Linked DNA regions of Homo sapiens: region 2 is linked to region 1. The links are contacts of gene promoters, found by promoter capture Hi-C in human tissues and cell types (Jung and others, 2019). All regions are on one chromosome and are shown on one strand. Each heading gives the region's core, a stretch centred on a gene start or on the middle of the fragment in contact. The rest is flanking DNA. Distances are from core to core; before and after follow the strand shown.

The links. The method cuts DNA at HindIII sites, captures the fragments that hold promoters and counts their contacts. A contact is called where the count stands out against the background at its distance.
Region 2: a contact is called between a fragment that was not itself captured here and the fragment with the promoter of PACS1 in region 1, in 1 of the 25 tissues and cell types used here (bladder).

What each region holds. Positions count from the first base shown.
Region 1 is chr11:66,065,062-66,073,019 of GRCh38, reverse strand. It overlaps PACS1 (phosphofurin acidic cluster sorting protein 1), which reads right to left and starts at 2,748. Exons shown (of 24, transcript NM_018026.4): 1 at 2,178-2,748. The coding sequence starts at 2,533. SF3B2 (splicing factor 3b subunit 2) reads right to left here. Exons shown (of 22, transcript NM_006842.3): 20 at 4,975-5,074; 21 at 4,687-4,872; 22 at 3,712-4,346. The coding sequence ends at 4,275. RefSeq lists silencers at 1,804-2,008, 2,069-2,218, 2,229-2,358, 2,509-2,558, 2,569-3,188 and 1 more and an enhancer at 4,736-4,895. The HindIII fragment of the contact is 13,254 bases long and covers 1-7,958 here.
Region 2 is chr11:66,246,618-66,254,575 of GRCh38, reverse strand. The region is part of intron 1 of LOC124902694; the gene reads left to right. It also overlaps a transcript of KLC2 not described here. Among named protein-coding and RNA genes, the nearest start is that of KLC2, 7.1 kb to the left of the region's middle. RefSeq lists an enhancer at 483-984. The HindIII fragment of the contact is 6,602 bases long and covers 1,295-7,896 here.

The DNA of each region.
Region 1 (7,958 bases), core at 1,499-3,998:
CAGCAAGTTAGCATAATAATTATACATTTGATCAGGATGCCTGGCTGTTTCTTAGGCTAATAATTTATTACGTGGACTTTGCAGTGACCAAAAGACCTAGGGGCAGACCAAACATCAACAGCAGTCAATGATTTCATTCACGCCCCTCTGCTGCAGCTCCTTGCCAGTAGGCTCGCGCCTTTTCAACCTAACGAGATGGAGAAGGCAGCTGCCCAAACGTCACCAAACACAGGCATGAAAGTGAAGGAGAAATGGGAAAGACTGGACCCACGTAGGAAGGAACACAGTGTTTCTATGTGTGAAAGAGGTGGGTTAGGATACTTCAGCGATAGATGGGCCTGTATAGAAAGAGAGAGGCCTGCTTAGGATCAAGAGAGGAACACCATCACATACTCAACTCTCGCTTGAGCTTGGTGTTGTGCTATGGATCTGGCCACAGCAAACTAAATTAATGTGGCTCCTGATTTCCCTAGAGAAAGGACAGAGAAAAAAAAAACAATGTGTAAATCTGTTAAGTGATGTGGAAACACAGAGTGGAAGCAGCCTGTGGAAACAATCTACTTTTGCCTAGTGAAGTCCCAGATCTATACCCTGCGAGCGGCAATCCCACCCCTCCATATGAATACAACCTAAAGAAACTTCTGCACAAGAGCACTAGGAGTCCTGGGGGGAAATGTGTGCATTACTGTGGGTGTTAAACAGGAAACAACCTACATATTCAAGAGAATTACGGTATATTCATTCACACAACAGAATACTACCCATCATGAAAATATTTAAACTATGGCTACCATACCACATGGATGATTCTCACAAACCTAATGCTGATTTAAAAAAAAATAAAAAAACCAATCAAGTCACAGAACACATACAGGATGACACCATGTACACAAACTTCAAGAACATTCAGAACTATAAAATATATAGAGATGCATTATGTAGTAAAACTAATTTTTTTCTAACAAGGGAAATGATAAACACAATTCAAAATAGTGTTTACCTTTGTAGAAGGAAGAGGGGAGACAGTCAGGAAGGGGCACCCTGAGAGCTTCAACAGAAGCGATAATGCTCTGTTCCTTAAGCTGAGCGAAACAGAAAGATGTACTCTCATCATTCCTATCTGGGATATATATATAAAACAATATTATCCAGAATAAAGGTGGGGAAAGGAAGACAGTCGAGGGGGGAGCCCAGCAATCCTCTCTAACTCTGACTTACACATCCGTCTGCCTAACCAACAGTGAGGAGACAGCCCAAGACTTCAAGGCAACAGAATCAACTCAGCTACAAGGTGACAAAAAAGAACACCTCCAGGCACTTCTCTGGGCTTTCTGGGTGAAACCAGCTCCACACACCGTCTTATTCAAGTGGCAAACTGTAAGACACAGCACCCTGTCCCCAGAGTTGGAGACAGACTGCCTTGCCAATACAAAAACAGAAAATATTCCCAAACTCAGGCCTATTTTGCCAATGGAAGGAAAGTCCCCAGATGGTTCCAACAGACAGAGAGCAATGGATTGAATTTAGGAACAAGGCAGTAATTTCATACAGCCCTGCAGAGCTGGGAGATTCTGGGACCAGTTTTAGTGGGGGAGGGGAGGTAAAAATACACTTGAGGACACATTAAATAGGGCCCCAAAACTAAGAGCCTAGCGCTTGGGACAGAACGTGTGTAATATGAAGTTCAAATGAACATGTGTGCCGAAGGCTAATGAGAAGCCCCTAGGGTGATTATATGAGCTTTACCTGCAAGAGGTGACAATCGAGTTTGGCACATGCTGAGTCTATTGGGAAATAATAATATCAAGAGATCTATACCACATCCATGTATGTACAGCTCCCGGCGCCGGCGAGGCAGGAGAGTGACTTACTCAGGGAAACTGACTGCCAGGAAGGCCGGATTCGGTCAGCCCAATCGGAGAAAGCCCGGGGCCGAGGCCAGAAGGTCCCTCGGGGAGGACAGAAGGGTGGTCCCGGCCCCAGGCAGAAGGTGGGGCTGCCAGGAGAGGGCGGGTCCCCGTGGCAGGAGTCCCGGGAGGCCTGGCTGGAGCCAGGCCGGGCCGCGGGACAGTCGGGGAGATGGAGGGCGGGGACCCCATGGGCGCTGGGGCGGGGAGGGCTGGGCCCCGGCGGCCACCCCGCTCCCCCGGCGCCCCGCCGCACCCTCCCGCGCTCACCTAGGCACGCAGCTGGACGAGCTCCGGTCCACCTCCCAGGTGGCGTACAGGTTCATCTGCACCGGGGCGGGGGTGCGGCCTGGCCCCGGGCCACCGGGAGGCGCGGAGCCCGAGGCCACCGCCACGGCCATGGAGGTGGAGGTAGACGAGGACGAGGAGGAGGCAGCCGCCGCCGAGGTGGACGAGGACGACGAGGTGGCCTGGGCCAGCTTGGGGGGCGTCGGCTGCTGCGGCGGCTGCTGCTGCTGCTGCTGCGGCGGCGGCTGCTGAGGGGACTGGGCGACCCCGGATCCCCGCTGGCCGCTGCCGCCCCCGGCGCCTCCGGGACCACCGCCCGCCCCTCCGCGTTCCGCCATGGCCCGGCTAGGCGGGGGTTACGGAGGCCGAGGCGACGCCGATCTGGCTCCCAGGCTTCCCCCGCGGCGGCGGCGGCGGGGGCGCGGCAGCCTCCTCAGCCCGCCTGCCCGAGCGCGAGCAGCCAGCGAGCTGCACGCACGCGCGGGGCCTCTGGGCGCGCGGGCCTCGCGCTCGACCGCCGCTGCCTGTTGCGGCTCGCGAGGCCGACACGGGTGGGCGTGTCCGGGAGGGGGCGGGGAGCCCGGCCCGCGCGGCCCCACCCAGCGCGGAGGGGCCGGGCCGGGCGCGCTCGCGCCCTGCGTGCAGCCACGCGCGCCCCTCGCTCCCGCGGAGTAGAAGGGGTGGTCTGTGGCCAGCGCGCGCCCACGGGTCCTGCCCTCAAATCCGCTGCCAGTCTGCCCCCGCTCCTCCCCTCCCCGCCCACGGCCGGCCGCGGCCCCGCCAGCGGAAACCCGGCTTTTCCGGGATTCGGTCCCTGCAGGGAGGGGGCCGCCGCGGGAGCGCGCCTCGGCCCCTCGGGTCTTCGGAGCCAATGCGGAACCCGCCCCCAGCGGTGGGGGTCTGCCCGGGGAAGCCGGCTCTCCGCCTGCCGACCTAGCCCTGCCCTGCGGCCCCGGCAAACAGAGAGGTCGGCGGAGACCCGGGGCCCGCTGCCACCGCGGGTGCCTGTGATCCGGGAAGTTCCCGCCCCGAGGGCAAGCGGGGGCTCAGGGACCTGGAGTCCAGAAGGTTCTTCGCATAAGTGAATTCTCAAGCTACCCCGGGGCCCATCTGGAGCCAACCTTCCTCTTCTTTCCCTACCCCCCAAATGCCTCTTTAGAGTGCCAGTGCTTTGTTGCTTACCAAATTTCTAAAATTCCATTCCTCCTAAGGCCTAGCTCAGCTGCCACGTCCTATCTGGATCATGCCCCCCACAACCCCGAGACCATCTTGAACCCTCCGGCAAGTGAGCGCCTCCACTGGTGCACTTAAACACCAACAGTAGTACAACAGCAGCGCATGACTACCCTCCCCACAGGCTGGCAAATGCCCATGGGAGCCAGTGATCCAGCCTGCTCTAGTCTGTCAGAAAGGCTGCTCAGGACCAGATTACAACCTGGAGAAAGTAAGTCCCCCCATCCCACATACAAATCCCAAACCCCAGCGACTAGTGTTGCTTGAACCCAAGGGTTCATATGGACTCAAGACAATTTAGCTTTTGAGCTATGTTGTCGCACAGGTAAGGACTTGAACTTCTGGTCACAAGGTCAGTTGGGAAGGCCTGCCCTGGCCTACTTCCCAAGCCCACTGTTACTTCCTCTGCCGCGCTAGGGCGCTAATCTGGCTATTTTTACTCCCCAAGGACAAAGTAGTAAGGTCAAACCAGACCTAGAGGTACTTCCCCCAAGCCTTCCTACAAAGCAGGGCAGTGGTGAAACACAGATTTCAGCCTGGGGTTGGCGTCACCACCAGTCAAATGCGCCGTCTAATCCCAGTTTATGTTCGTGGTTACTGGGGCAGCCCAGTGATTGTAGAAAGAGACTATTTTAGTCCTTTTGCAAGAAGGGGCTAAAAGGAGATGAGGGAGGCTCAGGAGTGTTAAATATTCATCTCTTTCCTTGGGAAACAGCTTTATTTACAAAACAGGTCTAAAATAAGAACATGAAATGACAAGTCCTTGGGAACTGCGGGAGAGGTGGTTCTTGTGTGAAGCCCAGGCATCCAGACGTAGGGCCAAAAAAAGGGCTAGTGTGAGGGGACCTAAAACTTGAACTCCTTATATTTCTTGCTGCCCCCACGGCTGTCCTGGGGCTGAGCTTTCCGTTTTTTTTGCTGTATAGGGAGAAAGAGACACAGGTTAAGACAGGTTGAACCACCCCCGGACCCCCAAAACAAGGGTGGGCAGCCTGACATAGACATAGAAGTCTGTGGGAAAGGCGCTGAATCTGAATTCTCTTCGAGCTCCCTCTCAGACTTGGCTGAGTTCCTCCCCCTCATCGTCCTTAAAGAGGGCAGCCCACTGGAGGATTTCTAAGACTTCCAAATCTAAGGAAGCACAGAGCAGCAAGCAGAGGCCACCCTCACTCTCACCACTAGAGGGCACCATGCCACTGAAAACGGCAGGCCAGGGTCCCTGGCTCTCACCCAGCCCAGCGCCCCTGGAAGCGCCTACCTTCTGTTTGGCAGCGTGCTCAGCCACCATGTCACTGAAGTCCTCCTTCTCTACTTGAGCCTGCTGCTCCCGCACATGCTCCTCATACTTCTGGGTCATGGCCATAGGATCCAGCTCCAACTCTTCAGGCGCCAGCGCCACTTCCACACCTTGCAGCTCAGGAGCCGGGCCCTTCCGGCTCATAACCTGGAAAGGAGATCAGGGCCTGGTCATCTCCAAAGAGTCAGAGAAGCCCTAGCTTCTGCTGCCTTTCTCAGCCTCCAAAAGCAGTATCCTCCAAGTACTCACCGTGGACATGTCATAAATGTGGGTTGATCCCATCATGGCCCCTCCAACAGTGGCTGTTCTCTTCTCTGGCAACACAGTGAAGAGCTGAGGTGTCTCACTTCTGCGAAGGACAATGGGATCAGGCCCAAAAAGCAAGGGACAAAAGGGTCTCCAGAAGCGGAAACAAAAGATACAGGTGGCACCTCCACTCAGCGCCTTGGAGAGCTTCTGAGCTCCCCAAGGATGCAGCCTCTGCAGTTCTGCCCATGACAGAAAAGAATTGGGCGGGGGGGTGGCACAGTGCTGACTCCAGGGAACACAGATGGAGCTAAGGGGCCCCCTGAATCAAGTCAAGGGATCACAGACCAGGACTCCCACATGCACATAAGGGTCAAAAGGTCAGAGAGGCTCAAAGTTTCCAAAAGAACTTTGGTACAGAGAAGCTGGCAAGATAGAGCAGGCGACAACAGTTCCCACCCGAAGAATGTCATGCCTGGAGTTCTCATGTATGTAATTCACACTTCCAGGCCTTCCAACGCAAGAGCCATCCACAGCCAGTTTCACCACTAATTTCAAGGATTACACTAGGAACAAGAGCAAATCTACCACTATCACCCCAGACTATGCCCATCATCTCCACCTCTCCCGCTGGAAGAGGTGACAATCTATTGTCCACACAGGAGCCAGAGAAAATACCTTAAAACGGATGTCGGGTCCTGTCAGACCTTTGCTCAAAACCCTCTGAGGCTTCTGATCATTATCTGAATAAAATCCAAACTCCTTACCATGACCTAAAGGGTTCATAGCCTGGTCCCTTACCCAAGCCCTCCTCACTATACTCTGTCCACAGTACCCTTCTTTATTTTTCTTCCTTGAATATGCAAAGCTTGAGACTTCTGCTTCCTGACAAGGAGCAAGAGGAACCAGATACACCCTCCTGCCTGAAACAACCAAAAAAAATGGGCAAAATATATGAAACAGTGGTTTTCAAGACACTACACATGGGGCAACAAAGCACAGTGATTCCTGCGAGACAGGAAACAAATGTGATGAGCCCTTCAACTGCCCCAGCATACCACACCTGAGAGTTTGCAGGCCACAGAACAGAGGGGAGACTCATGGAGAGCCCTGAGGACTCCGTGAGTTGGGAGGATGAAACTGAAAGTCCAGGGAGATCAAGGCAGCTAGAGTTCACAGGATAGAGTACTGGAGAAAAGAGCAGAGAGAGAACTCGAGACCTACAGAAGGTCCTCAAGTATGCAGGGGAGTACTAAGCAGCACATGCCTACCAAGGACAGGGAAAGAAGCACCCAAAAGGATTCATAACAGCAACTGCTGCTCACTCAGAACTGGGAATAGAGTAACTCCCACTAGCCAGCCGGAAAAACCTCCTGATTCACAGGGTGGTGGGTAGAGTACACAGGTACTTGTGCCTCACAATGGGGAGGACTGCTTCAGTCCTGCCTCAAGAACCCCAAAACAAGACCTGAAAGGATCAAACTATCTCCATATAACTATATTCCCGAATGAGCTGAAGAAAATGTACAGGAATACAAAAATATCTTGGACCCAACAAGGTAAATTTCACAAAGCCTAGCATTCAATAAAAAATTACCAGGCACTGGACAGGCCTGATGGCTCACACCTGTAATCCCAGCACTTTGGGAAGCTGAGGCAGGATGATTGCTTGAGCCCAGAAGTTCAAGACCAGCCTGGGCAACACAGTGAGAACCTCTCTCAAAAAAAGAAAGGAAAAGAAAAAAAAATTACCAGGCGTGCAAAAGAGTAGGAAAATACAATCCATAATGAGGAAAATGAATCAACTAATGGCAGTCAACCCAGAAATGGCACAGATGTTAGAGTTAGCAGACAATACATTAAAATGTTGTTATAGCCAGGTGTGGTGGCTCATGCCTGTAATCCCAGCACTTTGGGAGGCCGAGGCAGGCAGATCACCTGAGGTTAGGAGTTCAAGAACAGCCTGGTCAACATGGTAAAACCCTGTCTCTACTAAAAATACAAAAAAATTAGCTGGGTGGGGTGGCGCACGCCTATAGTCCCAGCTACTTGGGAGGCTGCGGCACAAGAATTGCTGGAACCTGGGTGGCAGAGGTTGCAGTAAGCCGAGATCACGCCACTGCACTCCAGCCTAGGCAACAGGGCAAGACTCCGTCATAAAATAAAATAAAATAACATAAAAATAAAATATTGTTATAACTGCATTCCACATGTTCAAAAAGTTAAGAGAGAAAGAATAGATTTAAAAGACCCGAAATCAAACTTCTAGAAAGGAGAATTATATTGTATGGGATTACTGTTAGATCAGAAATTACAGAAGAAAATAATAGTAAACTTGAACATATAGCAATAGAAATTTTCTAAAGTGAAATACAAAGAGAGAAGAATTTCTTTAAAAATGAAGAGCATCAGTGAGCTCTTCATTTATTTTTTCATTTATTATTTCATTAATAGAGGAATAATTTGAGTTCCCAAAGGAAAGAGAAGGGAACAGAGAAAATATCTGCAGAAATCATGACAAAATTTTCCCCAAATTAATAAAAACTAAAAACCCAGATCTAAGATGCTTAAAAAACCCCAAGCAAAGAAACATTCAGAAACTACACCAAGGCACATTGTAGTCAAATTGTTAGAACTAGTGATAAAATCTTAAAAACAGCCAAATAAAAATGACACATTATGTACACAGGAACAAAGGTAAGAATGACAGCAGTTTTCTCACTAGAAACAATGCAAGAAAGAAGACACTGGAGCAACATCTTAAAAGTACTGAAAGAAGGCTGATGCGGTCACTCACACATGTAATCCCAACAAGCTGGGAGGCCAAGGCAGGCGGATCACTTGAAGCCAGGAGCTCGAGACCAGCCTGGCCAACATGGCAAAACCCCATCCCTACTAAAAATATAAAAATTAGCTGGGTGTGATGGTATGCACATGTAATCTCAGCTACTCGGGAGGCTGAAACAGGAGAATCGCTTGAACCCAGG
Region 2 (7,958 bases), core at 3,346-5,845, 180 kb before region 1:
CTCCCGCCTCAGCCTCTTGAGTAGCTGGGACTACAGGCAGGTGCTCACCATGCCCAGCTAATTTTTATTTTTTGTAGAGATGGGCTGTCCATATGTTGCCCAGGCTGTTCTTGAACTACTGGGATCAAGCGATCATCCCACCTCGGCCTCCCAAAGTGCTGGGATTACAGGTGTGAGCCACGGAGCCCGGCCGCCTCTTGTGGCTTTAAAGCTTAAGTGGTGCCTGTGCTGTGCGCCCTGGATTGAAAGTGCTGTTTCAGTGTCTCTGTTTTGCAGGTGAAGAAACTGAGGCTCAGAGAAGTGAAAGGCGGCTGCACCGGGCTCAATGGGCTTTTTTGTTTGTTTGTTTGTTTTGAGACAGAGCCTTGCTGTGTTCCCCAGGCAGGAGCGCAGTGGTGCAATTTCAGCTCACTGCAACCTCTGCCTCCCAGGTTCACGCCATTCTCCTGCCTCAGCCTCCCGAGTAGCTGGGATTACAGGCGCCTGCCACCACACCTGGCTAATTTTTTGTTGGCCAGGCTGGTCTCAAACTCCTGACCTCAGGTGATCCACTCGCCTCAGCCTCCCCAAGTGTTGGGATTACAGGCGTGAGCCACTGCGCCCGGCCAAGGAGCACATTTATTTTATCACCTTTTTCCCGGTAAATGGAGAGAACACTTCTCAATCTCCCTTTGTGACTTGTGCAGGTTCCTGGCTCCAATTGTTCTGCTCACCATCTGTGGGCTTCAGTGGTTCCTTTGGGATTCTCCTTAGGCGCTGGCTGCTCCGCCCGGTGTGCTGGTGGGGGAAGGCTGGGCCTTCCCTGCTGGTTCTCATTCTCTTGTCGCTTAGCCTCGCATGTGTTCGGCCCTTTCAGCCACTTGGCTTTTTATCTTGTCTCTGAGGATTGCACTGTGTGTCTCCCAAAGGAAGAGACTGTTACTTCATCCTGCACTGTCCTGTGCTCCTCCAGCAGCTGCTGATCTCATGCCAGGCTGCTGATGGGCACTCAGTAAATGGAGAATAAAGGAAGAAATCCATGCCCAGTGGTGATTCAGCTCCTTATGCTCTTTCCACAGTGCTCAGCAGCCCCCTGCCATCCCATGCCTGGGAAGTTGTTCTTGCTACTTTTAATATTACTGTTTCCTCCCTGAAAATCACTCCCACTTCTCCTACTGCATCCCTTTAGATCCTCAGAAGCCCTCGTCCCACTGAAATCTGCTTTCTTAAATTATTCTTTTTCTTTTGGCTAGATTCCCTCCCTTTCTCTGAAGTGGCTGGGGCACTTTTGCCAAGGCTGTCGTCCCACTTGAAATGTCAGCAGATATGGCCGGGCACAGTGGCCCACGTCTGTAATCCCAGCACTTTGGGAGGCCGAGATGGGCGGATCACTTGAGGTCAGGAGTTTGAGACTAGCCTGGCCAACATGGTGAAACCCTGTCTCTACTAAAAATACAACAAATTAGCCAGGTGTGGTAGCTCTTGCCTGTAGTCCCAGCTACTTGGGAGGCTGAGGCAGGAGAATTGCTTGAACCTGAGAGGCCTGGGCGACAGAGTGAGACTCTGTCTCAAAAAAAAAAAAAAAAAAAAAGTCAGCACATTCACCCATAAGTGCTCAAGATGGGAGGCTCCTTAAAGACCATGTCTCCCCAGCTTCCTGAGCTTCCTGAGGGGCCCTTGTCTACCTTGGACACCACTAGTTGTTGGTTCTTTCTGCCACTGAGCCAAGAATCAGTCTACTCAAAGCTGTCCCCAGAGGCTCCTGGTTCCTGTCCTGTGGCCTTATGGCAAATCTGCACCCTCTCTTCCTTGTGACCTCCCAGCCAGGGTAGACCGGTCCTGCCCTGCTCAGTGGAGGGACCGCAGGCCTTGGGGTCAGACTCAGCTAAGTTCAAAGCCGCGTTTCTCCATTTGCTAGTGGTGTCGCTTTTTAGGCATGGTCTGTTATTTTACCTGCTTCCTCATCTGTAAAGCAGGGTTCCTATTACCTACTTTGTTGGGACATCCAGAGAATGCAATAAAATGGCATAAAGGGGCTGGGCACGGTGGCTCACGCCTGTAATCCCAGCACTTTGGGAGGCCGAGGCGGGGGGATCACGAGGTCAGGAAATCGAGACCATCCTGGCTAACATGGTGAAACCCCGTCTCTACTAAAAATACAAAAAATTAGCCGGGCATGGTGGCTCGGGAGGCTGAGGCAGGAGAATGGCGCGAACCCGGGAGGCGGAGCTTGCGGTGAGCCGAGATCGCGCCACTGCACTCCAGCCTGGGGGACAGAGCGAGACTCTGTCTCAAAAACCAAAAACAAACAAACAAAAAAGGCATAAAGGCTTAACATTAGGCCTTGTACATAACAGACACTATTCCTAGTGGTTGTTTATTCTCATCACCATCAAGCTTAGTAGTCAACAGACCCTGAGTGCAAGGTGTGGGAAAAGAATGAGAAATACGGGGCAGCTTCTGCCTGCAGTGTTGTTGGACAGAGATGCACTCAGAATGAAGGTGAGCCACAAATGAGGCGGCAGAGACTGAATAGAAGCAAGCGTGAGCTGTGTAGTGTGGACCGTAGGTGCCCATGTGATCAGGAAGGAGATGAGCCCAGCGAGGGATGAGCTCACCTCTCCCCAGCGTCAGCTCTCCCACACGGTGGGGAGGCCCACATCTCCATCTCTGGCCCAGATCAGTCCCCTGAGCTCTACCCAGACCCATATATTCCACTTCCAGTTGGAATAGCACTAAGTCCTGTCCAAATCTCCTGCAGGGATGTTCACACAGGACAGTCAGTCTGTCCTGGACTCTCTTTCAACTCTGTTTTCTTTTTTTTGAGATGGAGTTTCACTCTTGTTGCCCAGGCTGGAGTGCAATGGCATTGTCTCGGCTCACTGTAACCTCTGCTACCAGGGTTCAAGTGATTTTCCTGCTTCAGCCTCCTGAGTAGCTGGGATTACAGGCATGCGCCACCATGCCTGGCTAATTTTGTATTTTTAGTAGAGACGGGGTTTCACCATGTTGGTCAGGCTGGTTTCGAACTCCTGACCTCAGGTGATCTGCCCGCCTCGGCCTCCCAAGGTGCTGAGCCACCATGCCAGGCCTCTTTTTTTGAGACGGAGTCTCACTCTGTCGCCTGCCCAGGCTGGAGTGCAGTGGCGCGATCTTGGCACACCGCAACCTCTGCCTCTCAGGTTCAAGCGATTCTTGTGGCTCAGCTTCCCAAGTAGCTGGGATTACAGGTGCCCGCCACTATGCCCGGTTAATTTTTGTATTTTTAGTAGAGACAGGGTTTCACCATGTTGGCCAGACTGGTCTCAAACTCCTGACCTCAAGTGATCTGTCTGCCTTGGTCTCCCAGAGTGCTGGGATTACAGGCATGAGCCGCCATGCCCGGCCTCAACTCTCGTTTTCTAACCAGCTACCAAAACCTATTAATTCAACCTCTTAAGTCGCTCTCAGATTTATCTATTTCCCTCTAACCCTTCCACCTTTACAATGTCCTCATCACATCTTTTCTAAATGGCTGCTGCACCCTTCAAGCTCATCTGCTGGTCTGCAGAGCAGGTCTTGTTTCTCCCGGTGTGTTGTATTAAGGAGATCTTTCTGAAATATGTCGTCTCACTTCTCTGCCTAGGTCCCTTCGCCAGCTCCCCTGTCTCTCAGGACAGAGTGTGCAGTCCTTGCTCTGGCTCACAGTGGTAACAGTAACAGCTACGAGGTTCCTCAGGGCCTAGACTCTTCCTCCGCTCCCACTGGCACTCACCATCCCCATGGTCTCCAGCTGCACTGAGCCCTGTGTGGTTCTTGGCATCAGCCACATTCTCCCTTATCTCTCTTATCTCCCTTATCTCATGCTACTTCCTATGCCCAGAACATCCATCCTTGTCAGATGTCTTCAGTATGCCACTCAGGTGTCATTCCCTTTGGGACATCTTCTTGGACACCTCTTCCTGCAGGGTGGACATCCCTCCTGTGTGCACCAGTGCAACCTGTCATGCTGTGTGGCGATGGTCTGCTTGTCTCCCCTACTGGCCTTAGCGTTCCTGTATAGGTTGGGACCCAACCTAGGTTCATGCTGTACCTAGGACACGAACTAGTAGGAAGTTAATAAAAGCCAGATGTATGGATGGTTGGGAAGATGGGATCTGAGTAGGGCCCTGAGATATGGCCTGAGTCAGATGATGGGGTTTAGAAACCTGACCTCTTCTCAGCCGATATGTGTGCATTGGACGAGTGACTTAACCCTCACTCATGCACTGAACCAACCTTTATCGAGGGTCCGCCGCATGCCAGGGTGCTGGATACTGCAACAATGAGTCCGGCGGCTCGGGTCTTTGTCCTCCTGGAGCTCTCATTCGAATGTGGTACAGAGACATTTGCTGCAGGTAATAGTGAACTCTATGACTGAAGAGACAGAGGCTAACAACCAGGCTTTGGGTGGGGTGGTTGGGGAAGGCTCTTGGAGGAGGTGATACAAAGGCCACATCTTAAAGGAAAAGGAGCTTACTCTGGGGTTGGAAGAGGGATGTGAGCACTGAAAGGTCAGGTGTGGCTCGAGGGTGGTGAGCATGGCAGGGGGAAAGCAACTAGAAGTGAAGGTAGTGAGCCAGACCACGGGCCTGGTGGACGGTGGTTGGCCTCTATTCAGAGGGCACTGGGAGGATAGGACGACAAAGGATACTCTATGCGAGGAAGGTACCCTGGCTTATAGTTGGAAACAGCGTTTGGGAGGCAGCATGGACAAGAGTTGCTGATGGATTGGGAGGGGCGGCGCAGGATGAGTCCGGGTTTCTGGCTGGAGTAACAGGATGGAGGCTGGTGCCATTGCCGACTGGGGAAGATCAAGGGAAATCAGGAGTCTTGCTTTGGCCATGTGAAGTCTGGGATGACTGTGAGTGTTCAGGTCGCAACATAAGTGGTTAGATGGGAGGCTCTAGAGTTGGGAGGGGAGGCTCTGACCTTTGGTTTCCTCCTTTGCAAAAGGAAGCATCAGCAGAATTGATTTCACAGGGAGGGCTGCTTTAAGGACTCGATGAAATAAACCATATAAGGCACTCAGCAGCAGCCTGGCTCAAAGGCAATGCCCTGTAGGTGACGGTGACAGCTATTAATGCTGTCAGTCCTTGGACACGGCAGGTGAAAGGGGTGGCGAAAGAAGCAGTTTAAAGATTAGTCTGAAACCTCCTGTACAGCAGAATCCCAGATGATGCATGTAGGGATAATCAACACCTCACCCGAGTGTGGGCTGCACCAGCAACTTCCTTCCAAAGAGAACAGCATGGGAGCAGGTGTGTGGGACTTTACAGTGAGGAGCCCAGGTCAACCTCATCCATGATGTCATGTTGACGGCATGTGCCCTTCACAGGCTGCGCTGAGAAGGGCATTCACCTTTGAGGTCTTCCTCCCCACAACCTATAACCTCCATCCAGCCACGAGAAGAACATCAGACAATCCCCAACTGAGGGACATTCTACAAAATGCCTGACCAATACTCCTCAAAACTGTCAAGGTCATCAAAAATAGAGATCAAAAAGTCTAAGAAAATGTCACAGCCCAAAGGATCCTAAGAAGGCAGAATGGGCTGGATGTGTTGGTTCACGCCTGTAATCCTAGCACTTTGGGAGGCAAGGTAGGAGGATCGATAACTGAGGTCAGTTCAAGACCCTATCTCTACCAAAAAAAACGAAAGAAAACAAAACAAAACAAAGAGCCAGGTGTAATGACACATGCCTGTAGTCCCAGATACCCAGAAGGCTGAGGTAGGAGAATGGCTTGAGCCCAGGAGTTCCAGGCTGCAGTGAACTAGGTTGGCACCACTGCACTCCAGCCTGGGCAACAGAGCAAGACCTGGTCTCTAAAATCAACAACAAAAAAGAAGACAGAATGACCAAACGTAGTGTGGCATTCTGGGTGGGAGTCTGAAATGGAGAAAGGACATTAGGGAAAAACTAAGGACATGCATAAAATAGGGACATTTATTTATTTATTTGAGAAAGAGTCTCACTCTGTCGCCCAGGTTGGAGTGCAGTGGTGCAATCTTGGCTCACTGCAACCTACGCCTCCCGGGTTCAAGCGATTTTCTTGCCTCAGCCTCCCGAGTAGCTGCGATTACAGGTGCCCACCACGCCTGGCTAATTTTTGTATTTTTAGTAGAGATGGGGTTTCACCACATTGGCTAGGCTGGTCTTGAACTCCTGACCTCAGATGATCCACCTGCTTCAGCCTCCCCAAGTGCTGTGATTATGGGAGTGAACCACCGTGCCCGGCCAAAATAGGGACTTTAGTTAATAATCGTGCATCACGATTGACTCACTAGTTATGACAAATGCACATGAATGTAACATGTTAACAGTAAGGGAAACTGGCAGGGCGGTATATAGCCACTCTTTCTACTATTTTTGCAACTTTTCCATAAATCTAAAGGTATTCTAAAATAGTTTACTTAAAAATAAAACCAGTCTGGAGTTGGCGTGCAGGTTAGATAGAGGCTCTTCCACTTTCTGCATCAAAAAGCCTTTAGTCTCTGGCGGACCTTGGGCAGCTCTGCTCTGGTCCAGCCTTAACTCCTGGTGACTGGGCACAGCTGCTTCAGGGTCTGAGTCAGCACCTTCCACCTGAGTTGCCTTGTGCTCCAAACTGTCCCTACACAGCTGATTTCCTCTTCTTTGCCCGGGGTAGGAGTCTATCTTCTTACTTCTGAGCCTATGAGAAAACCCAGGTGTCTTTTGGGCTAAGGCATCAGTTAAAATGTCTTGAGTAGCACATCTGGATTTGGAACCCAATTCCAGCAGCAAGAGGGAACTTCATTCTGCAAACGAGTATTTATTGTGCACCTGTGATGGGCCAAGCAGTATTTTGGGTGCCAAGGATACAACAGGGAAAAACATTTCCTCTTTTCTTGGAGCTTGCATTCTTGTGGGAGAGACAAATGAATAATTAATGCCAAGGAGTGGGAAATATGAGTAAGAAAAAAAAAAAAGAGGGGTTGGAGAAGGGAAGGCCTCCTGAGGTGACATTTCAGCCAAGACCTGAATGATGGAGCAAGCCACACGGGCCTGAGGGCAGCAGCAGGATGGACAGGACCAAAGGTCCGTGCAAAGGCCCTGAGGCTGAGTGGTGTTTGAGGAATGTTGAGAGGCCAGTGAGGAGGGGAAGCGTAAGAGGAATTAAGATCCAGCAGCTCCTGGGAGATCAGACCATGTGGGCCCCTCACAGGTAAGGCTTCAGCTTACACACCTAGGTAGGTGGGACACTCTGCACAGTTTGGATCAGCAATCCAACACGATCTGCTCAGCTCTGAAAAATCTCTGGCTATTGAGTGGAGAACAGGCTACAGGGAGAAGAGGGTGGGAGCAGGGATAATTAGGAGCCTATTGCAATATCCAGACAAGAGATAATCGCAGTAGAGGAAGGGGCAAGGCACTGTCAGGATAAGCCTGGAGGATTTGCTCATGGATTAGATGGTGGGTACAAGAGAAACAGGAATCGAGGAGGATTCCCCAGTTTTCGGCCTCGGAACTGAAGAACCGAGTTTGCATTTACTAGGAGGGAAGTCTCCCCAGGGGAGCACATTTCACACCATGGGGCCGAGTGAGCTCCCTTTAGGGCTGAGTGTGGGGAGAGAGGAGGCTATATTAGAGGCTGGAGCCCCGAGTCCTCCAGGGTTTTGAGGCTGGGAAGCTGAGGACACCATAGCAAGGGAGGCCAAAAAGGAGAGGCCAGGGAGGTGAGAGGAGAGCACAGAGCTGTCCACAGGCCAGGTGGAAAGACTCAAGCGGGTGATTATTTGCATCCAATGCTACTGATAGGACTGGGCAACCCAGGTCACTGGCAACTGTGGAAAGGAAACTTTTGGTGGGATTGTGAGGAAAAAACTGGAAGGGAGTGGGCAGAAGTGGAGACGGGGAACACACACAGCTCTTTGGAAGAGTTTTGCTCTAAGGGGAGCAGAGACAAGGCATGGCAGCTGAAGAGAATCTGGAAGTCTC